Linked DNA regions of Homo sapiens: region 1 is linked to region 2. Evidence: promoter capture Hi-C in 16 types of primary human blood cells and fetal thymus (Javierre and others, 2016). All regions are on one chromosome and are shown on one strand. The core of a region is centred on a gene start or on the middle of the fragment in contact, and the rest is flanking DNA. Distances in the headings are between cores, read along the strand shown. Region 1 has its middle 320 kb from the start of MME. Region 2 holds the start of PLCH1 (phospholipase C eta 1).

Evidence for each region. Contacts are between HindIII fragments. The CHiCAGO score rates a contact against its expected background, and 5 or more counts as called.
Region 1: a contact is called between a fragment that was not itself captured here and the fragment with the promoter of PLCH1 in region 2, in 1 of 17 cell types (M2 macrophages). The highest score is 5.4, in M2 macrophages.

The regions. Positions count from the first base shown.
Region 1 is chr3:154,756,803-154,761,596 of GRCh38, reverse strand. No RefSeq gene overlaps it. Among named protein-coding and RNA genes, the nearest start is that of MME, 320 kb to the left of the region's middle. The HindIII fragment of the contact is 2,585 bases long and covers 870-3,454 here.
Region 2 is chr3:155,743,663-155,748,820 of GRCh38, reverse strand. PLCH1 (phospholipase C eta 1) reads left to right here and starts at 3,750. Exons shown (of 23, transcript NM_014996.4): 1 at 3,750-3,981. RefSeq lists enhancers at 3,788-3,997, 3,892-4,513. The HindIII fragment of the contact is 4,475 bases long and covers 2,928-5,158 here.

The DNA.
Region 1 (4,794 bases), core at 913-3,412, 990 kb after region 2:
GGAAGATGCATATAAAATGATTTTAAAAGTACAACATTGGGGCCAGGCATGGTGGCTCACGCCTGTAATCCTAGCACTTTGGGCGGCTGAGGTGGGTGGATTGCCTGAGCTCACGAGTTCAAGACCAGCCTGGGCAACACGGTGAAACCCCATCTCTACTGAAATACAAAAAATAGCTGGGCATGGCAGCGGGTGCCTATAGTCCCAGCTACTTGGGAGGCTGAGGCAGGAGAATTGCTAGAACCTGGGAGGCGGAGGTTGCAGTGAGCTGAGATCATGCCACTGCACTCCAGCCTGGGCAACAGAGCAAGACTCCATCTCTAAAAAAAAAAAAAAAGGACAACATTGGGCAGGGTGGGGTGGTGGAATAGAGAGGAAATGGAAGCTAAGAGACCACACACACAGAACTGATTAGGGCCAATGATTAGCAGGATTTAAATGGAAACAAAAGAAAACAAAACAACCCCTCTGAATTTTAGACCTATTTCTTCCTCTTACAAGCAATGTGATTTTAGGCAAATCTCTTAACATAGTTTCATCGTCTAAACCCTGGGGATTAATATTTAGTGTTTTTGACACACACACACACACACACACACACACATATACACTCACCATTTATCTTGCAGCAAGGAATAGGTACTTTACAAATATTACCTCATTTATTCCTCATAATAACCCTATGGAATAGGTACTACTATTATTTCATTTTGCATATGAGGAAACTGAGGTACAAAAAGTCAGTTCATACAGCTAATAAGTGGCAGAACTGAAATTGGAATCTTGGCAGCCTGTTTCTAGAATCTGTATTAACCATTGGCTGTAACAGCCAATCTACAGAATTGCTGTGAAGATTAAGTGGAGAAGCTTACATTTTCCAGAAGATAATTTTTTTGTTTTTTTTTAATTGCTTTCAACATATTAAGTTTTTGTGGACCCTTTGAGACTCTGGTAAAATCATGAACATTATATACCAGCAATATCCACACATATACATAACATAAAAATTTACATAGCATTTCTAAGATTTCAAAGACCTCCAAAACTCCATTCAGGGACAACAAGTTAAAAAAAAGCCTGAATTTAACTTGGTTGGGTCTCCTTAACCTCACTGTCTCCCAACTAGAAGGTGAAAATAGTGATCAACTTCCCAGCTTCCAGTTCTAAGGGCTGAGAGGCCTACACATAATTTGAGGATAGGTTCCATACCACTTCAAACTGCTTAACAACGTGTTATTCAGAAGTCCTGGTTTGAGTTTGCTTTATAAGTATAAATTTAGAGCTAAAAATGGAGTGGAGAGAGAAACAGTTTGGTCAAAGTCTTTGGTCTTTGTAAAATGCAAAATATTTGGAAAATAGTCTGGAGGGGTTGGTGGCATTTAGCCATTCTAAGTGCCAAGAATCACATCTTGTCAGCTCTTGCTGATTCGCCGTTGACCTCAATGACCTCTATGTCCCTTCTTCATTAGAGCACACTGGGAGAGTGAAAGGATGGCGCCATTTGGGACCACACTAGGAAAAACAAATTCTACAAGTTGTACATTTCATCATTTTTTTTCTTCCACTTAAAAATCTTGACAAAGGTTTATCAAGTTGCTTGAAACCCCATTATGATTCAAATCAACAAGTTCTACAGAGAAAACCCACTGAACAATTTACTGTGGCTTGTAATATCTGTTCATATTCTTCTTAGCAGACACAACAACAAACCTCATTGTTTACCACTGGTTACTGAGACCAGAATAGGTAAGAAACAAAAGCCATCGTCAGATTTGTTTTGTTTTCCAGTTGGTTCTTTCTTTGAAAGAAAAACAACTGTCTTTTAAATCAAATCCTTACCCTTTTTTCTACTTCATTATTGGTAGGTCCAATTATAATTAATGAGCAACTAATGAACATTCGTTAACTTAGACAGTAATATTTTTATTTTTCTTTGGTTGATTCAAGAACAGCTACACAGATATTTACTCAAGATTATGAATTTAAAAACTTGACTAAAGGTGAAAAGTTATGACATAAAAGAAATGCCAAACATCTTTTCGTTTAGTAGCATAAAAATGCTATCAAGCAAGGGCATAATCTGAATTTTTTAAAAATTGATGTAGATCATTGAATTTGGCAAGAAGAATTTGTGTGTGTGTGGTGGGCAGAGGTTTAAATGGGTCAATGAGTTAACAAAGGCCGGTTCCTCACTGTCTGAAATAATTTACCGATTAAAACTCCATTCACCTGGTCAAACATGTTCTATCAATTTCAATCCTGTTTTGAAATTAGAGGTTTGCTCAACTTGAAAGGAGATTTATAAATAATTTATAAGCATTGATATCCATGCATCAGAGAAAGCGTAGAGAGATGAATTAGCCCTATTTTAAAACTTAGTAGTTAGAGTTCCAAATAAAAAGTCTCAAGGAAACACAGTGAATTTAGTAAGTTCCCAGTTAGCCAAAGCTATTGGCTATTGGCTGAATATCTGGTTCTTACGTAAGTTTACTCTGCATGTGACCTACGTACATTTATGTAAATTTACTTACATAAATTTGAGACAGTTATCAATACAATAGTACTTACATGTAAGAAAGTATTTAAGTTAAAGCAAATACTTAATGGTTCTTTTCATTTTAGCACTCACTGAAAATCAGGCATTTCAAAGTAACACCAGAATGTTTATATCTTTTATATTAAATAGATAGACAATTTAGCCAAAATCTTATTCTGTACTCTGCAACTCTGCTTAGCATATTGTTCAAACTATACAATGACAAAATTCCATTTTAAAGAAAATTAAAGTAGGATAAATTTAAAGAAAATTAAAGTAGGATAAATTTAAAGAACAATGAAAAGACTACAGACATCAATACTACTATATGAAAATTAAGTGATACCCCCATAGAATGTTTATTCCACTATCACATTTAGAGTATCAAAAATTCTCTTGGGAACAGAGATTACAGTATTTTGAAGCAAACTTTCAGTTTATAATTCCTTGACAAGTACAATTTATTAGCAGAAAAAATATTTTGAAAAGGATTTTGTTCTTTTTCTTAACATGAACCACAAAGTGCTTTTCTGTCTTTTTCTAGATACAGGCCTACATACATTAATTTTATGTAAAACCAGCTCCCTCTAGTGATAACAATAATGTTTCCAGCAAGAAACGAACCGGCTTTCTAGATTATTTATATAAAACCCTTTGAAATTGAATCTCAAAATAAACACTTGAGAAGATCGACTTTTATTATAGAGGATAAAAATTCTAATAACCTTCCAAGTCATTTGTTAATAGTCTTTCTTAGTTTAATGCTCTTTTAAACATGTCAATACGGGGAGTGACCCTGGTGTTCAACTTGTTCTCTTTGCTCACTGGGAAAGCCAGGCCCAGAAATATAAATGCACTCTGGTATGTTCAATAAAAATCAGTTTACGTTTTTTTTTTTTTAAATCCAATAAAGAAGCTTATGATTCAATAGAAAGATATGATTTTTAAATGCTAATTTCTGTACACAGACATAAATATCACTATTTAAATCAGCACTTTAAATATCCAGTTGCTTTCTTTGATATCACTGAGGATGAAAACTGAATTGTGTAACTTTAGCAATGTAAAACATCAGACAGCTGTTGAAGAATGAACTCCTCACTGGAACTCCTGAAGTTTGGCTATGGTTGGTATGATGTAGAACAGTAGTTTTTAATTTTTGCTGGAAAACACTAGTTAGCAAATTTTTTTGTTTTGTTTTGTTTTGTTTTGAGACGGAGTCTTGCTCTGTCGCCCAGGCTGGAGTGCAGTGGCGCAATCTCGGCTTACTGCAAGCTCCGCCTCCCGGGTTCACGTCATTCTCCTGCCTCAGCCTCCTGAGTAGCTGGGACTACAGGCGTCTGCCACTAGGCCGGCTAATTTTTTTGTATTTTTAGTAGAGACGGGTTTTCACCGCGTTAGCCAGGATGGTCTGGATATCCTGACCTCGTGATCCTCCTGCCTCGGCCTCCCAAAGTGCTGGGATTACAGGCGTGAGCCACCACGCCTGGCCGTTAGCAAATATTTTGGGACTTACAGGCCACGTGGTCTCTGTCGCAAAAAATTAAGCTCCGCTGTTGTAGCATGAAAGCAGTGATTGATTTGTTTGTGTTGAATCACCCTTCTATCCCTGAGATAAATCCCACTTGGTCATGATGATCTTTTTAAACAGGTTGTTGAATTTAATTTTTTTAGTATGTTTTTGAGAGTTTTTGCATCAGTGTTCATAAGGGATAATGGCTTGTAGTTTTCTTTTTTTGATGTGTCTTTGTTTTTGGTATCGGGGTAATACTGGCTGAGAGAATGAGTTTGGAAGTATTTTCTACTCCTCCATTTTTTGGAATAGCTTGAGTAGAATTGGTATTATTTCTTCTTTAAATAAAGATTTAAATTCTGCCATGAAACCATGGGGTCTCTGGCTTTTCTTTGCTGGGAGACTTTTTTATTTTGGCTTCAATCTCTAGTATATTTTATATTATTTTATATAGTTGCATAGTATATTTTGTATACTAGTATAGTAGTATATTTTGTATATTTTATATTGCATAGCTGCCCAGTATATTTTGTAATATACACTTTTTTAGATTTGTATAATGTTTGTAAAAAGGCAAAAATTCCAACACAAAAATGGGCACAAATATAAATAGAATAGTCACACAATAATAATAATAATGGCTCTTAAATATAAAGAAGTGATCAACATCACTCATAATTGGAAAAAAATTAAGTTACACTGTATTTTTTTCTTTTTCTTAAATTGTCTTTATTCTTTATATTTT
Region 2 (5,158 bases), core at 2,501-5,000:
TCTATAAATTCCAAGCTGCCTATGCTGTATTCTGCATGAGCTCCTTGCAGTAGTCCCTGTGCCGATTTCGATCGTGCTGGATAAAGCCTTCCTTACCATGCTTTAACACTGACTAATTTTTTCTTTAACAAGAGAAATGCTGATTCTGAATTGCTAGACTCCCACCGTTTCTGAAGTCCTTATCCTTCCCCCTATCTTAAAGTGGGAGTCAATACATCAGCTTTTTTTACTCAAGCTGGTTTGATAAGGGGTTTTGTTATTTGTACCTAAAAGCCGTGACCAATTTGTAGAGTAGGGCCATAAAGACAGGTACTACGCTCTACTTCAGGAGTGCTATCTATATTCCAGCTAAGGCTTACCACCTAGAGCAGTGCCTGGTACATGGCAAGTACTAAAGAAATATGTGTTGAAAGAGGAGTGCCTCTTCCTTGATACGCTTTTTTGGTCAATGGTTTTCTTAACTTGGTGCATTGATTAAAATAGGGAACATTTATCTCCTTTCCTCTCTTGCTCGTGGATATAACTCAAGATGGTTGCTGTTTAAATTTGAACACCTTAAATAAATGGCTCTTTTTGCAACTGGAAGCACAATTTTTGCACAGCTAGAAAAATCTTTTTCCAACACAGAAATTCCCAGTGCAGTTTTCTAAGAAACCCCCTACGATACGCAGCACAGCAGGCTCACCACAAGGCACATCAATCATTTTACTGTGTATCAGGCACCTCTTACAGGATTTTCTGTGATCCTGGTGTCAGTGCACATTCTGTATCAAGGCAGAGATGATATGTAGAAATCTGGCAGCTATTTAGAAGGGAGGCTGGGCAGTGGTGTGCCAGTATAATTAATGAGAGTCATCGCTTAGGAAATGAAGAGGGTGGGGGTTGGGAAGGATGCCTTTCACCATTCAATGGCATTTAAGAAAAATTGATGCTTTCTTAGCACTTTTAATGCTGGGAGGACATTAAGTCAAAGAATCACAGCAAAAGATTTTTGTAACTACTGTACAGATGGATGTCCCTGTGCTTGAAGAGGCAGGGCTAATTCAACCCCAGACTTTTCAGCCAGGCGGATTTCAACCTTGTATTGAGCTACCAGCAGGAGTTCTTTATACTTGGAAAAGTGGTAAATCCTTACTAAAAGATCATAGCTTGCATGACCAAGAGATCCTCTAGAAAAGGTACTTTACTACCATGTAGGATGTTTGTCTTACCTGCCCAAAGAAGTTTTAATGAAGATCTCATTTTCTCCAGTTCCCCTTTAACCAGTGAAAGAGGAGGGTATTATTTGTTTTGTTTTTCTATTTATTCTTTGGTAACCATGGAAGAGTTTGTGTAACCTAGAGAGGCTGCTTATTACCCACTGTCTAATCCCTTTGTTATTATTCCATACTCTGATTGTCACAAGCAGGAAAAATAGTTCTGTCCTGCTTCTAAAAACTTAGCAATGTAACACATTTTCTTGTTTTTAGTGATTTTCTCCAATTAATTAATTAATTGTTTTAGTGATTTTTCTCAGATAAATAATGTTAAAACGACTTGGAGAGAAAAGCTACATTAAAAGATTATGGATGTATAAATGTCCTAAACATTTAAGAACATGCATAATTATGATTCATACCAACTTCAGAATTATTACCTTTGGGAAGGGGTGGGGGTAACGAGTCAGGAGTTGGGGTTTAGCTATATCTGTAATGCTTTATTTAAAAAAGAAGGGCTGGGGGGAGCAGGAGTATTACATGGTATATATCCTGTTTTTGGTAGGTTTGAAATATCACACAATTTAAAAATTTAAAAGTTTACAAAATTATGGGAGTTGATTAAAACTATCAAAATAAAGAATGCATAGCAAACAAGTGCTCTTATTATGAACTTTGTGTCTGAGTTTATTTCAACATGTGCATCTGCATTTTTTCAGACTCAAGAAAGACAAACACCGGAGGTTAGGGGGTGAACTGCTGCTGTTGAGGGATTATCTTGGTGGTTTTTTTTTTTTTTTTTTTTTTTTTGGCTTTTCTATTCACCATGGAGGTTACCAGCAAAACAAATCTCCAACAAGCTTGTTTACAAAATATAAAGCAGTTTGGAGGCAGAGGGTTAATGACTTAATTTCTTATAAATTGAGGCTTGTGTATGGGCATGCAAAAAAACAAAAACAAAAACAAGTAAATTTGGGGAGGTTTCTTTCTATAGAGGCAAAGGACCTTACCTACATTTTTTCCAAATTGATTTCTTCCTGGTACTATTGGCAGGAAGAAATTCAAGTGGGTATTCTGGTGGCTTTTTTCTTTTTTCTGAGAGTCTAGGATTGTTTTCAGGACAAAGTTTCTTCTTGCCCATGGTGCTTTGCTGTGACATTGTAATTGCCTCTGTTGAATTGAATAATACAAATGGGTTGTTTCTATGGTATCGGCTAAGTGGGATGAAAAGGTGAAACCCTAGATCTTGCGCTGAGAGGTCACAGTGCTACCACCCTCCACACTGTCTGTCAAAGAGAACAGGCAGCCAAGGCCCTGAGCTCCAATCTCAGGCACTCATTTGTAACTTACTCGTTTGTAACTTCCTGGGCAAATTCACGCATGAAAAAAGAAAATGACTTTAGTTTATGTTGTCACTAAGCCCAGAAAATCCCTGCCAACCCCATGCTGCCAGCTTTCCTAGGACATTCTTATTGGAGGATTATTTTAAACTGAAAGGTGAGTGAAGAGCTGCGTCCCCACTCCTTCCCAGCCAGGCTTTGAACTAACAATAGGGCAGGTTGAATGAAGGCTGATAAATGTAAATCCTGGAATCCAGAAGCCGGATCACACCGCGGCCGTCTAGGCCAGCGGCGGTTCCAGCATCCGCCCCAAGCTGGTCACTCATCCTTTCAGTGCATTCAGTAGATTTCATCGTTTCATCAACACTTGAGTGCCTGCTTCGTGCAAGCTTTCCTCTGCCACCGCCGCCTTCTTACTCCCGGCAGGTTGCCCGCTTGAGTCAACCAGCCACTAAACGGATCTAAGTGAATAAGTGGCCTGTTAATGCCAAGGAGTAGCATTTCCAAATGAAGAGACTGGGGGTAAATAAAAGCAAAGTGTTACCATTTACACGCTCTCAATTTTAGTTGCACTTCACTCAGAGTAGATCTCTTTAATTTGCGGCATCGACAGATGCTATATTCTTAGAAATTTTTTTTTTTTAAAGGAGGTAAGACGGGCGTTTGAGAACACTTTTTACTTTGGTGCAAGTTGCACGCAGTTCCCATTCACTCAGAGTAGATCTCTTTAATTTGCGGCATCGACAGATGCTATATTCTTAGAAATTTTTTTTTTTTAAAGGAGGTAAGACGGACGTTTGAGAACACTTTTCACTTTGGTGCAAGTTGCACGCAGTTCCCATTCCCTGCGCCCTTCACTTCCAACTTTGTTTCTCCAACTCCTTTACCCCCCACCACCGAGGCCCTCTGGCTACAGCCCCGAGGGGTTACCCTGGGTTTCGAAACTTTTGAAACTTGCGGGGGAGTAAAAGTACTTCATTCCCAGTGCTTCTGGCCCTTGCCAAGCGGGGAGCCCCGCAGGAGAGTGTAAGCCAAGGGTTCCAGGTGCAGCCTTGGGGTTCCACGTGCAGCCCTAGGGTTCCGTACACCCATCCCGCCCGGGCCAGAGGAGGCAGCAGGCGCTCCAGTCCGCTCTCCGCAACTCCAGTTCCTGATTTCCTCGGAAGCTGCGGGGCCGAGAGGGAGGGGGGCTCCTGTGTGAGCGTGAGGATTTGAATGAGAAAGCAGGTTGTGGCGGCGGCGCCCTGCTCTTCCCCGCTCGTCTGGGGCTTCTGCTGGCTAGTGGGGAGAAGTGCTCTTCTAGGGGGGCTTTTCTGGCCCTTGGCAGGGGTTTGGAGTTGGAGTCACAGGGGCCAATAACTCATCACCCCAGCACTTCGGAGGTGGCTCCTTGTGCCACGGACTCCGAGGAGTCCTTCAGCTACTGAACACTCAAAGCTGAGGAGGTCAGTGCTTTCGGGGGAAGAAGGGGCCCAGGAGAGAAGGGGGTGTGCAGGAAAAAGAGAACTGGTACGCCAGTCCGATGAGCGAGTGAGCAGGTGGCCCAAGTTCCTTTCTCGGCAGCCACAGCCGGCACACGCCTGTTTAGGACTGTGAGTGCTGTGCGTGGGGATCCCCTAAGGCCCCGTGCGGGGAACTGGCCACGGCCGCTCTTCAGGGTCCCATAATTCAGAAGGATGAGGGTGGGTGTGTGTGTCCGCGAAATAATGTAACTCTCGGGTCCCTTGCGGTGGTGGTGGGTGGCGTTTCGCCCGGTGGAAGGTCCAGCCTCGCTGCAGGATGCTTCACCCTCACGCGGGGTCCCGGGACCCTCTCTCTGACCGCCAGACGCCGCCAGGAGAGCAGGTCCGCGTTTCCCAGCAAGGGGAGTGCAGCGTCCGTTACACTTGGGGAGTCTCACAGCTTTTCCTGCGCCCGGTGACCCTGCTCAGGACCTCTTAGAGACTAGGTGTGCTCAGCGCGAGGAGGATATACTCCATTGCCCTTTCCTGGGAAGAACCAAGAGCGCCCGAGCGGCGCGGGGTGGTGGAGGCAAACCCCGGCCCCGCGGCGGCACGCTCTGCGCCTGCGCGGCGTTTCCTTGGCGACTGAGCTGCGGGTCCGAGACGCCACCCCGCGAGCCCCTAAACCCAGTTCCCTGTTGAGCGTCTGCGACGCCCTCTCCCCTCCTTCCCGAGGCTTTTTCTATTTGTTTCCTTCTGCGAATCAATTTGTGATCACATTTTGACGTTGAGAGTTCAGCATTAAAGCAATAACCAACTAAATTAAAAAAAAAAACCCAACTTTTCCCTTCCCTTGTTACCGTTTTGATCACGGACAGAAGAAAATGGTGAGAGATTAGTTATTAGGGCAGCAATTGAAATCCCCCTCTGTCCCGAAAAGGGGAGACGAATAAAACATTTACTTCCTGGTAAGGAGTTAGAAAATTCAGTGAAGTGATTGTTCTCGAGCGTTACAAGAACAAATCTGTGCCTCCTAACCCAGGTGAAGAGCAGAGCTTGTACAACCCAGCAGCACCCATGTCCTGTTTATTGGCATGTTTATGACAAGGAGATGCTCTGCAAAAGGGACCAGAGTATAATGCCAATGAAAAGAAACAAAGGATTTCCCAGAAGAGGCGGT